Linked DNA regions of Homo sapiens: regions 1, 2 and 3 are each linked to region 4. The links are contacts of gene promoters, found by promoter capture Hi-C in human tissues and cell types (Jung and others, 2019). All regions are on one chromosome and are shown on one strand. Each heading gives the region's core, a stretch centred on a gene start or on the middle of the fragment in contact. The rest is flanking DNA. Distances are from core to core; before and after follow the strand shown.

The links. The method cuts DNA at HindIII sites, captures the fragments that hold promoters and counts their contacts. A contact is called where the count stands out against the background at its distance.
Region 1: a fragment that was not itself captured here is called in contact with the fragment with the promoter of CALU in region 4 in 2 of the 25 tissues and cell types used here (hippocampus and mesenchymal stem cells).
Region 2: a contact is called between a fragment that was not itself captured here and the fragment with the promoter of CALU in region 4, in 1 of the 25 tissues and cell types used here (mesenchymal stem cells).
Region 3: a contact is called between a fragment that was not itself captured here and the fragment with the promoter of CALU in region 4, in 2 of the 25 tissues and cell types used here (hippocampus and mesenchymal stem cells).

Annotation. Positions count from the first base shown.
Region 1 is chr7:128,526,523-128,529,659 of GRCh38, reverse strand. No RefSeq gene overlaps it. Among named protein-coding and RNA genes, the nearest start is that of METTL2B, 51 kb to the right of the region's middle. The HindIII fragment of the contact is 6,916 bases long and covers 1-3,137 here.
Region 2 is chr7:128,955,044-128,958,006 of GRCh38, reverse strand. TNPO3 (transportin 3) reads left to right here. Exons shown (of 23, transcript NM_012470.4): 22 at 692-783; 23 at 2,622-2,963. The coding sequence ends at 752. Among named protein-coding and RNA genes, the nearest start is that of IRF5, 19 kb to the right of the region's middle. The HindIII fragment of the contact is 3,933 bases long and covers 1-2,963 here.
Region 3 is chr7:128,594,307-128,597,616 of GRCh38, reverse strand. No RefSeq gene overlaps it. Among named protein-coding and RNA genes, the nearest start is that of LINC01000, 45 kb to the left of the region's middle. The HindIII fragment of the contact is 6,994 bases long and covers 1-3,310 here.
Region 4 is chr7:128,737,619-128,740,612 of GRCh38, reverse strand. It overlaps CALU (calumenin), which reads right to left and starts at 1,254. Exons shown (of 7, transcript NM_001219.5): 1 at 1,181-1,254. RefSeq lists an enhancer at 918-1,017 and silencers at 1,298-1,437, 1,508-1,647. The HindIII fragment of the contact is 3,801 bases long and covers 1-2,994 here.

The sequences.
Region 1 (3,137 bases), core at 62-2,561, 210 kb after region 4:
AATGACACTGTCTTTTAAAAAAAAATTTTTTTTTTGAGACAGAGTCTCGCTCTGTCGCCCAGGCTGGAGTGCAGTGGTGCGATCTTGGCTCACTGCAACCTCTGCCACCCGGGTTCAAGCAGTTCTCCCTGCCTCAGCCTCCTGAGTAGCTGAGATTACAGGCACGCGCTACCAGGCCCGGCTAATTTTTTTTTTTTTTGGTGGAGTCGAGGTTTTGCCATGTTGGCCACGTTGGTCTCGAATTCCTGACCTCAGGTGATCCGCCCATCTCAGCCTCCCAAAGTGCTGGGATTTCAAGCGTTAGCCACCGCGCCCGACCAAATGACACTGTCTTAAATGATTTAATGTCTTAAATCGGGAAAGGAGAGTAAGAGAAAGCACTCAACGGAGTCAGAGGTGTCTTGCAGCCTAGCTCTTTCCACAGACAAGCTACATGGGCCTATCATCTAACCTTTTCAAGCTTCTCCGACTGCTTCTGTGTTGGAGGGATTTGGGCTAGAGGATCTTTTTATTTTTTTTTATTTTATTTTGGTGACGGAGTCTCTCACTGTCGCCCGGGCTGAAGTGCAGTGGCGCAATCTCAGCTCACTGCAACCTCTTTCTCCTGGGTTCACGCGATTCTCCTGCCTCAGCCTCCCAACTAGCTGGGATTACAGGCGCACACCACCACACCTGGCCTATTTTTTGTATTTTTAGTAGAGACGGGGTTTCACTATGTTGGCCAGACTGGTCTCGAACTCCTGACCTCGTGATCTGCCCACCTCGGCCTCCCAAAGTGCTGTGATTACAGGCATGAGCCACCGCACCTGGCCTGTGATCCCATTTTTCAAAGTAATTAGGCTGGGTGCAGTAGCTCACGCCTGTAATCCCAGCACTCTGGGAGGCCAAAGCGGGTGGATCACTTGAGGCCAGCAGTTCGAGACCAGCCTGGCCAACATGGTGAAACCCTGTGTCTACTAAAAATACAAAAATTAGCTCGGCATAGTGGCACGTACCTGTACTTTCAGCTACTTGGGAGGTTGAGGCAGGAGAATTCGCTTGAACCCGGGAGGCAGAGGTTGCAGTGAGCCAAGATGGCACCACTGCACTCCATTCTGGGTGACAGAGTGAGACCCTGTCTCAAAAATAATGATAATAAAATAAAAGTAATTATTTAAGGCTGGGAGCGGTGGCTCATGCCTGTAATCACAGCACTTTGGGAGGCCGAGGTGGGTGGATCATGAGGTCAGGAGGTCGAGACCATCCTGTCTAACACAGTGAAACCCTGTCTCTACTAAAAATACAAAAAAATTAGCCAGGCATGGTGGCGGGCGCCTGTAGTCCCAGCTACTCGGGAGGCTGAGGCAGGAGAATCGCTTGAACCCAGAAGGCGGAGGTTGCAGTAAGCCGAGATCACACCACTGCACTCCAGCCTGGGTGACAGAGCGAGACTCCGTCTCAAAAAAAATTATTATTATTATTTAAAATAATCATTGGGCCTGGTGCGGTGGCTCACACCTGTAATCCTAGCACTTTGGGAGGCCAAGGCGGGCGGATCACGAGGTCAGGAGATTGAGATCCAACCTGGCCAACATGGTGAAACCCCATCTCTACTAAAAATATTTTTTTAATTAGCTGGGCGTGGCGGCGGGCACCTGTAATCCCAGCTAGTCGGGAGACTGAGGCAGGAGAATCGCTTGAACCTGGGAGTCGAAGGTTTCAGTGAGCCGAGGTCGTGCCACTGCAATCCACCTGGCCAACAGAGCAAGACTCTGTCTCTAAAATAATAATTTTTATTATTGTTATTCTTGACAGGCCAGTGTAGAACAGGTGGGGCATCTATGGTGACAGAACTGGGTTCCAATTCTGTCCCTTCACCTGTCCCAGGTTCCTCATCTGAAAACTGTGACCCAGTAAACCTAATTTCATGAGCAGCTTTCATTAAAATTGAAATAATGGTGGAAAATGCCTTGTAACCGTGCTTGATGTAGAGTAGTTACTTAGCCAGTTATTTCCTCTCTTCTTCCCATTCCTAACAAAATGGAAAAACGTTTGGTTGCTAGGAAAGAGCCTTAAGGGGATTTTGTTGTTGTTTGACTCTATCGCCCAGGATGGAGTGCAATGGCACAATCTCTGCTCAGTGCAACCTCCGCCATAGACAGGAGCCAAGCGTAGTGGTGTGCACCTGTCGGTAGTTCCAGCCTCTTAGGAGGCTGAGGCAGGAGGATTGCTTGAGGCCAGGAGTTTGAGTCTAGCTTGGGCAATATATTGAAACCTTGTCTCTTAAAAAAAAAAAAAAAAAAGAGGCCAGGTGTGGTGGCTCACACCTGTAATCCCAGCACATTGGGAGGCCGAGGCAGTGGATCACTTGACACCAGGAGTTCGAGACCAGCCTGGGCAACATGCAAACTTATGTCTTTTAGGCCGGGCGCGGTGGCTCACACCTGTAATACCAGCACTTTGGTAGGCCGAGGCGGGCAGATCACGAGGTCAGGAGATCGAGACCATCCTGGCTAAGATGAAACCCAGTCTCTACTAAAAATAAAAAAAAATTAGCCGGGTGTGGTGGCTGGCGCCTGTAGTCCCGGCTACTTGGGAGGCTGAGGCAGGAGAATGGCATGAACCCAGGAGGTGGAGTTTGCAGTAAGCCAAGACAGCACCACTGCACTCCAGCCCAGGCAACAGAGCTAGACGCCCTCTCAAAAAAAAAAAAAAATTACATCTTTAAAAAAAAATGCAGGGCCGGGTGCGGTGGCTCATGCCTGTAATCCCAGCACTTTGGGAGGCCGAGGCGGGCGAATCACGAGGTCAGGAGATCGAGAGCATCCTGGCTAACACAGTGAAACCCTGTCTCTAGTAAAAATACAAAAAATTAGCCAGGCGTGGCAGCATGCGTCTGTAGTCCCAGCTGCTGGGGAGGCTGAGGCAGGAGAATGGCGTGAACCCAGGAGGCAGAGCTTGCAGTGAGCCAAGGTCCCGCCACTGCACTCCAGCCTGGGCGACAGAGCGAGACTCGGTCTCAAAAAATAATAATTAACAAAAAAAAAAAAATACAAAAGTTAGTTGCACATGTTGCCATATGCTCGTGGTCCCAGCTACTCAGCAGGCTGAGGTTGGGAGATCACTTGAGCCCAGAAGGTGGAGGTTGCAGTGAGCTG
Region 2 (2,963 bases), core at 427-2,926, 220 kb before region 4:
AGGGAGGTCGGGGGGCTTTTGAAAAAACAGGGTCAGTTGAATATTGGGCTATTCATATCACATAGGCATCTCCTGCTTTGTCTCTCTTTCTACATGCTTTAACCCTTTCCTCTCTCCCTCCTCCTCCCACAGGAGGAAATCCTGAGCAGCCTGTTCAACTAGAAAATCAATGACTGGTGGAGACTTAGTTGCTAGACCGGCCTTTGTAAACAAAATCTATCTTTGGAAGAGAATGAGGAAACTTATGAGAGCCGTAGCAACCAAGTGTTGTTGTAGCAGCCTACATTTATTGAATACTATTTTGTTCACTGCTCTATTTTCATAAGCACTCTGTATGTGGACGATTTTAATCCTCTAAACAGTGTTATGAAGTAGATAATATTAATAGATGAGGAAACTGAGACAAAGATTGGTAACTTGTTCAAGGGCACAGTGGAGCCAAGATTCAAACTCGGGCAGTTTGTGTCCAGAGTACACCCTTTGAAGACCACCAAGCTTATAACTTTTCTCATATATAATAATTTTTGCCCTGAATTACAGAAAGATCTGAAGCCAGGATCGCTCAGGAGACGATGGAGAGAGCTCCTAGCAGAGTTGGGACGGTTCTCAGTGTGCCCCAATGTTGCAGTTGTTTTTCAGCATATTCTGTCTTTCTCCTCAGTCAAGGACCAACCTACCTTTTCTTTTCTAGTGCTGAGGAATGTAAACAAGTTTGCTGGGCCTTGCGAGACTTCACCAGGTTGTTTCGATAGCTCACACTCCTGCACTGTGCCTGTCACCCAGGTGAGGATACATAGTTCCCAGCTTTTGTCCGGACTGTCGGACTGTTGGGGATGCCTGGGAATGGGGATAGGTTTTAATGCCTATCATGGGACCAGTCTTATAGCTAGAGTCAGGGAAGGACTCAGCAGTTTAACTGTGGTGAACAGCTGGAATATACAGGGCCCGGATTTTCTTGGGCCTGGGCAGCCAGTAATTGTCAGTGTCTTTGGGGTACCATTTTCACCTCCATAAGAAAGTAACTGTTACACAGTGCATTGAAACATTTTCTTCCCCCTTCCCCTTACAGACACTTCTAAGATGGTAAGTGTACATGGCAACAAACAAATAAGTATTTTTAACCTGGCCACTTTGGCGAAAACAACCTCAAGTTGACTGTTATATGTGGTGCCAGTCTCCTAAAACTGACCCTCCAGATGTAATGAGCAAAGAGCTTATTCTTATCACTTTTATGACCTGAATGCTGAAGTGCCAGGTTTTGACCAGGGCAGGAGGTATGAATTGAATATCCCTTATCCGAAATGCTTGGGATTTCGGAGGAAAAAACACTTTCAGAAGTGTTTTTCAATTTTGGATTTTTTGGGATTTTGGAATATTTGCAGAATGCACACCAGTTGAGCATTCCTAATCCAAAAATCCAAAATCCAAAATGCTCCAATGCTCATTCGCTTGAGGGTCATATCAGCGTTCAAAAAGTTTCAGCTGTTAGGGATGCTTGGCCCTTACAGGAGAGGAGGAGCATCTTTGGCTCCCGATGAGCACTTTTCTCCACGTGCTTTCCGTCTCCTGGTTCTGAAGCAAAGCAAGAAGCTTAGCTGAAAGGAGTGGGTAGTAGAATTTGGGTGCCAGTTTCTTGATGGAGAGAAGAAAGGTAGCTCTCCTCTAAGCCCACCCTTTGATGTCTCAAGGTGAGTTTCTTCTCCCAGGAGGCAATTCTTGATGAATCTGTAGCACTCACTGGTAGTTTCTGTGTTAAATGCATTCATAGGTAAAAGTGATGTTCAGCAGTGCCTTGCCACACCCAAAATCATTTCTCAACTTTGATTGTTTTAATGAGTAATAATATCATTTGGGATGTCCTGGTTTTGCATGGTGTCTGGGTTAGCTGACATTGATACACCTCATAAGGTTGCTCATGGACAGCTGTAGGTGTTCATGGTTAACTTTTATTGTGCCCTTACTGTGTGTCAGGGCACTGTTTTAAGTGTTTTAGATGTATTAACTAAGATAATCCTCATCTGCTTTTCTGGATTTGTTACTATTTTTCCCATTTTACAAATGAGGAAATTGAGGTTCAACAATGTTTAACAATTTGCCTGACAGTTATTCGTGGAGCCAGAATTCACATGTAGATATTCTGGTACCAGAGTCCTCACTTTGAACCACTCCGCTTAATACAGTATCCTTTCGATAGCATCTAAATTGGTGTTTTGTTTTGTTTTGTTTTCAACTGTTATTAGTAGGCAAAGCCTTCTTTCAAAATAAAATCGACATGAAGCCTGTGGGATTTAGCAGACTGAGGCAAAGCTTCCCTGGTTGCTTTGGAATGGGAGGCCTGGACCTGCTGGCTCTTTGCCCTCCTGACACATCATCCCTTGTTTCCACAGCACACTCAGCATTGGAAGCACACTGCAGACGGTGTCTCATTAAAGCAGTAGCTCCCTTGAACCCACAAGTTAAAACGCCAGACTTTTATTTATTTGTTTATTTTTTCTGAGTTCTTATTGGCAGACTTCAGAATGAGGTACCTGAGGAAATATAGAAACCTCTGCCTTAAGGTTGATTTTACTAAATGCTCTATTTTCTGGTGCAGTTATTGACTGTCTTATCTCTTTTGTCAGGAATGTCTTTTTTAATTAGAAGACAGGAAGAAAACAAAAACCAGACTGTGTCCCACAATCAGAAACCTCCGTTGTGGCAGAGGGGCCTTCACCGCCACCAGGGTGTCCCGCCAGACAGGGAGAGACTCCAGCCTTCTGAGGCCATCCTGAGGAGTTCCTGTTTGGGGGTGTGAGGGAAAATCAGCGCGGATTTTAAAAAGATGGCTGTGGCCTGCCCGGCGTGGTGGGAGGGGAGCTGGTTTCCTGGTGAACTTTCTAAAAGGAAAAATAATTTTAAGTAAAGAAAAAAGAAAAAAAAGGAAGACTAAACAGAAACCAGAACTGAAACATTCACCTGGTAGC
Region 3 (3,310 bases), core at 169-2,668, 140 kb after region 4:
TAGCCTGATATATATTGTCTTTGTACAAACAGATAGTCTTCATACTGGGAGCTAGTGTGGTGGTATAGAATGAGCACTAGACTGTGAGGCCAAATACTAATTTTTTTTTTCTTTGAGACTGAGTCTCACTTTGTCACCCAGGCTGGAGTGCAGTGGTGCAATCTCTAGTTGCAGCTACTGTGGTGCAATCTCTAGTTGCAGCTACTCTGGAAACTGAGGCAAGAGAATTGCTTGAACCCAGAAGTTCCAAGGCTATAGTATGCTATAATGCTATGATTGCACCTGTGAATAGCCACCGTACCCCAGCCTGGGCAACATAGCGAGACCTCTCTCTTAAAAATAAAACCTCAAATTTCCTATGTTAAAACACACAATTATGTAATAATTTTAAACATTTAAAAGATCAAATTCTTAATATTCTGCCACCTATTTTTATCAACACATATTTAGAAACCTTTCATTGGTGTATATACAGCTACCTCACTTCTTTTGTCAGCTGTATAGCATTCCACTGTACAAATGTATTAGAATTCATTTAACCAGTCCCTCTATAAAGAATGCTTTTACTAACTCATGCAACATATAATTACACTGAGTGTCTATTAGAGCAGGTCCCGTTCTGGGCATTGCAGATACACAAGTGAACAAAGTAAAGTCCTTGACCTGATGGAGCTTACATTCCAGTGGGGGGAAGTCAGACAAAAGTCCATCATAGTACGTCAGCTGGTGTAGACTAAGGAGAAAAACAACGCAGGGCCTAGGAGCTCAATAACAGGTGGGGTGGGTGGGGAGAAGTTGCTATTTTATAGTGTAGCCAAGGTAGGCCTCTCTCATAGAGTAAATATAAGCAGAAACCAGAGGGAACTGAGAGAGCGGGGCATGATGATATATGGGTGAAGAATGTTAGGGCAAAGGCAACAGCCAACGCAAAGGCCCCGAGGTGAGAGCATCACTGAGAGAGAGTATTTGAGAAAACAAGGTGGCTAGCGTGCATGGAATCTGATGAGAAAGGGAGATAGTAGTAAAACATGTCAGGGTGGAGGAAAACAAACCATGCAGGGCCACTTTAAGGACTTTTCGACAGGGGAGTGGCATGACTGGACTTATGCTTCAACACAATCACTCTGCTTTGTTAAGAACAGATTAAAAGAAAACAAAGGTCAAAGCAATGGGTCCAGTTATCTCAGTGGGAGACAATGGTTTAAGTTGGAGTGGCAGCAGTGAAGAGAATTAGAAGTGGTAAAATTCTGAACATAGGCCAGATGCAGTGGCTCATGCCTGTAATCCCAGCACTTTGGGAGGCCAAGGCGGGTGGATCACCTGAGGTTAGGAGTTCAAGACCAGCCTGGCCAACATGGTGAAACCCTATCTCTACTAAAAATACAAAAATCAGCTGGGTATGGTGGTACGTGCCTGTAATCCCAGTTACTTGGGAGGCTGAGGCAGGAGAACCGGCTTGAACCTGGGAGGTGGAAGTTGCAGTGAGCCCAGATTGCACCACTGCACTCCAGCCTGGGTAACAAAGCAAGACTCTATCTCAAAAAAAAAAAAAAAAAAAAAAATTCTGAACATATTTTGAAGGTAAAATCAATAAGCTTTACTGATAGATTTGGATTTAGCATATAATATAAAAAGAAGAGAAAGACAAGAATGACTCCAAGGATTTTAGCTGTAAAAATTAGAAGGAGAAAAGTTGACAGTTATTGAGATGTAGAAGGCTGTGGAGGTCAGGCACGGTGGCCCACATCTAAAATCCCAGCACTTTGGTAGGTCAAAGTGGGAGGATTACTTGAGTTCAGGTGTTCAAGAACAGCCTAGGTAATACACTAATACTCTGTCTCTATTTAAAAAAAAAAAAAAGAAAGAAAGAAGAAAGGTGAAAGAAGAAGAAGAGGAAGAGGAGGAGAAGGAGGAGGAGGAGGAGGAGGAGGAGAAAGGCGGCCGTAGGAGAAATGGGTTTCGGGTGGGGAACAGAAGGAAGAGTTCAGTTTTGAACATGTTACATTTGATATGTTTGTTAGACATAAAAAGGAAATGACTGGAGGCAACTGACACAGGCCTGAAATTCAGGGCAGAGCTCTGGGCTGGACGCATAAACTTGGAAATCCTCTGCACATAGGAGTTAAGTTTTAGTAACAAAGGAACTAGATGAGATTAAGAAGGCTGGGTGTGGTGGCTCCCGTCTGTAATCCCAGAACTTTGGGGGAGGCCGAGGCGGGAGGACCACTTGAGGTCAGGAGTTTGAGACCAGCCTGGCCAACATGGCAATACTCTGTCTCTACTAAAAAATCAGCCAGGCGTGGTAGCAGACGCCTGTACTCCCAGCTACTTGGGAGGCTGAGGTGGGGAAATCGCTTGAGCCCAGGAGATGGAGGTTGGAGTGAGCTGAGATTGCACCACTGCACTCCAGCCTGGGCAACAGAGTGAGACCCTGTCTCAATTGAAAAAAAAAAAAAAAAAAAGAGAGAGAGAGGGAGGTTAAGAAGAAAATGAAGGTAGATAAATGAATCTGAAGACAGAGCCCTGGAACACTCTAATGTTCAGAGATAGAGGATGTGAGGAAAAATCAAGAGTGGAAGCCGAGTGAAGACCGTATGCTTAGAGAAGAAAGAAGTGATCAACAGTCGCTAATGAATTACGTCAGATGAGTTCTGATGCGAAGGTCATATCCTCTGAAATACTGGAAGGGAAACTGCTTCCAGATTTTTTGCAACGATAAACAATACCTCAATAAATATCTTTGTGTAATTTTATGGGAATGGAATTTCTGGACCCAAGGATATGTAAACTTAACATTGAGATACATTACCAAGTTGTCCACATGACTTCAACAATTTATAGACAGAATAAAACTGAATGTATCTCTAAACTATCACCTACACCAAGAACTATCAAACTTATTAATCCTTGCCAATTTGCTAGGTCAAAAATGTTATCTTGTTTTATTTTGCACTTCTCTATGGCCAAAATTGAGTGGTATTTCATGTTATTAGCCGCTTGCCTTCTTTTCAAAAACAGTCTTTGCCTACTTTTCTAGGAATCTGCTTTCCTTTGCTGATTTACACTTGTATATTAATACTAACCCTTTTCCTATTTTCTTTCCTTATACTACTAAGCTTATATGCTGGCTGGTACTGCTGAGAAGCAAAGAGAAACAAAACTGTACCAGAGCATTCAGACTTTTGGTTTTCATACTGTTTCCATGTTCCTTCTTCATACATGATCATTTTGTTACTCGTCTCTGCCACCTCTTTCCACATGAGAACAACGTGGCTACAGCATCTGCTACTCCTCTGATAATGGAGTGCGT
Region 4 (2,994 bases), core at 5-2,504:
TTTTCTTGACAAATACAACTTAGAGGTTATATCTGGTCCCTCATTTGGATTATACTATATAAATTCTTCAGTGATTACTGTCGTTTGGTATTTGGTTAATTAAATCTACTGAGTGAGGTCAAACTTGCATTTGTCTTGTGTCAAGTTCCATTCTATGGCAGACTAATTTAACAGAGATTCCAAGGTTCTCTGCCTCCAAGCTGAATAAGCTACTAGAACAAAAAACAACTAGAAGCCACCTTATTCCCAATTCATTAACGTTGACTTCATGGTCCACACCAGAAAATGAACGCAACTCAATTCTCGAAGACACTATTCTAGAATTTTATACACTTAGGAATTCAGATCACAGGCTCAAAAGTTTTAGCAGGAGACCCACGGAGCTTGGGCCTTGATGCAAAAGCAGCTTTTGAAACTGCAAGCCACTCTACGCTTAATCGCGGCAGCTATAGGGAATTAAGTTTATTTCTGACCGCAGCATGCTAAAAATCAGTAGGATATGGGGCTAGAAGCAACAAAAAACGTAACAAAAATTAATTCCCCAATAAAGCTTTAAAAACTATTTTCCGTCGCTAACTGAAGTACGTAGCCAAATATGGAAGCTCTAAACATTCAGCTTTTCTTTAAAATCATAGATATCACCTAGTGTCGTCACTCGTTCTCTCCCCCCTTGTTTCTGCACCCTTTAGGTGAGTGAACACGACCTTGGCAGATGCACCCTACTGTCGGGATGTGGCCTTGGGGCGGAGCTGGCAGATACAAGCAGGATGGTGAGTGGAGGCGGCAAGGAACTCTTACAATAACACTATCCAAATGCCCTCCGACCTTCCGGAGGCAAAAAATGACCCTCTGGTGCCAGAGACTCGGTGAGTGGCGTGACCTAGAGATGGAGGACCAGGACGCAGCAAACCAGGCACAGAACAGTACCCAACGGGACAGAGTTCCACCGGACCAGCCCCCTTCCCAGAGCGCGCGGTAAGACGGGCGGCGGCCTCCATCCCAGGCTGCACACAGAGGGTCCCGGGATCTCCAGCAGCATCAGGCCTGGGACCCGGGCGCCAGCAGAGACAGCGGCACCGAGTGAGGCAGTCCCCTGCCGCGCCAAGAACAAGACCGGGGACAGAAAGAAAGCGAATAAAGATGAGGCAGTGGTGAAGGGGCTGGGCATCACCGTACTTACCTTTCCTCGTAGCCCCCACAGCACAGGATGCCGTGGCCGCCGCTCACCCACCGGCTCAGCTCACGCGCGCAAGCACCGCCCAACCGGAAGCGGGTCCGCACCCCGCCCTCATCCGCCTCGCCGGCGGCCTCCCGACCAATCATCAGCAAACCCGCCGCTGTCGCATAGCGTCCCCGAGTAGCCATTGGTCTAACAATCGCATAGCCGGGATTGGCTGGAAAGCGCCACGTCCCCGGGACCGCGCCGAGTTGCGTGGAGCGGATTCCCGCCCAACTCTCGTCCCCGGGATTGTTGGGACGGCGGGCTCCAGCCCCAGCCCCAGCCCCAGCCCCGTACTGCGGGTGGCGTGGGCGCGGCCGTGTGGCCGCCACGTCCCCATTCACAGCTCATGACTCTGCTTCCACAGGGCTTCTTAGACTATCCTGCTAGTTATCTTCATTCCCACAAGACCACCAGGGCGGAATTAATCCGACTGAATCAGTCACCAACTTTATTGAACAATCCCAACTTTTTCTTTCCCTTCAGCGCTGCGCCCTGCGCTATCTACAGGAGGCTCTTCAGTCTTTGGCACCAGTGTATCTTTTAGCTCCATCTCCCAACACTCCCCCTCATCTTGCGCTCTGGGCACCATCATCTGTTTCCTAACAACCGGTCCTTTTTCATCTCTTAAGATTTTTGATCAAGAGGCTTCCTCTGCCAGGAATAAGTGCGTTTTCCTGATTTTCTGCCTTGCCAATAGAAGTCCCAGTTCAGATGTTAGCTCTAGAAGCCTTCCCTGACCTCACTAAGCATAATTCTTACCTTATTTACCATCATAGCTGTTTATAGCTTCAGTACACTTTGCCAAATTCTGCTATAAAATGTAGCTTATCCATCTGTCCTCTTCTAGAGTAAGCTCCTGGGTAGGTATCTGTCTATTCATCTTTATATCTGCAACTCTGAGCTTACTGCCCAGCTCAGTAATGTTAAGTGAAGGGAATGGGCCGAACCCGTTGCATGTCCCTGAAAATTTAATTTCATGTCATGAAATTAAAACAAATATCAAATAAAGGCTACTATAGCTTCAACACAAATGGAATGTAAACCTGTGGCATTCTTAGCACATAAAGCCTCTGTAGTTTAAAATCAAATTGAGACAAGTTGTAAACTCATGAAACAGTTAAGCTCATGAAAGCAAGCTAGTTACTGTCAACGTGAAAGGTTTACAACTAATCCTTCTGGCATTCAAAGGAGTGTCAGTGACCCTTGGTGGTAGTCAGGGAAGGCTTCAGAGGAAGATATGACTAAGGCTGGACTAAGGAAGTCCCAAATGGACTATTCAGCAAGAAGAGTAATAGGAATAAGGACAAGTGGAGGGCAGAGTGGGAGGTAAATTCTCAGGCCAGGTAGCAAATGAGGAAGGTTAAAAAAAGGGGTGGGGGGAAACAATGAAAGAAAAGCATGGATAGTAAGTTTGGAGAGGTAATGGAAGATCTTGTCAATTTGAGGAACCTGAACTGAAGACAGTGGGAACTGTGGGTCTTCCTGGGAAAGTTTCTAAGCTTGTGCCTACAGGGAAGCCATCTAATGGGTATTAACAATAAAACAGGCTACCTCAGGAGGCATTATTTCGAAAACAGTTTTTAAAATACCTCCTTAAGGATCACTTGAGGCCAGGAGTTTGAGACCAGCCTGGGCAAAATAACGAGACCCTTCCTCCCCCTATCTCTACAAAAAAACAAAAACTAAAAATTAGCTGGGTGTGGTGGCACACACATGTAGTTCAAGCTAGTTGCTTGAGCCCAGGAGGTTGAGGCTGCAATGAACTATGACTG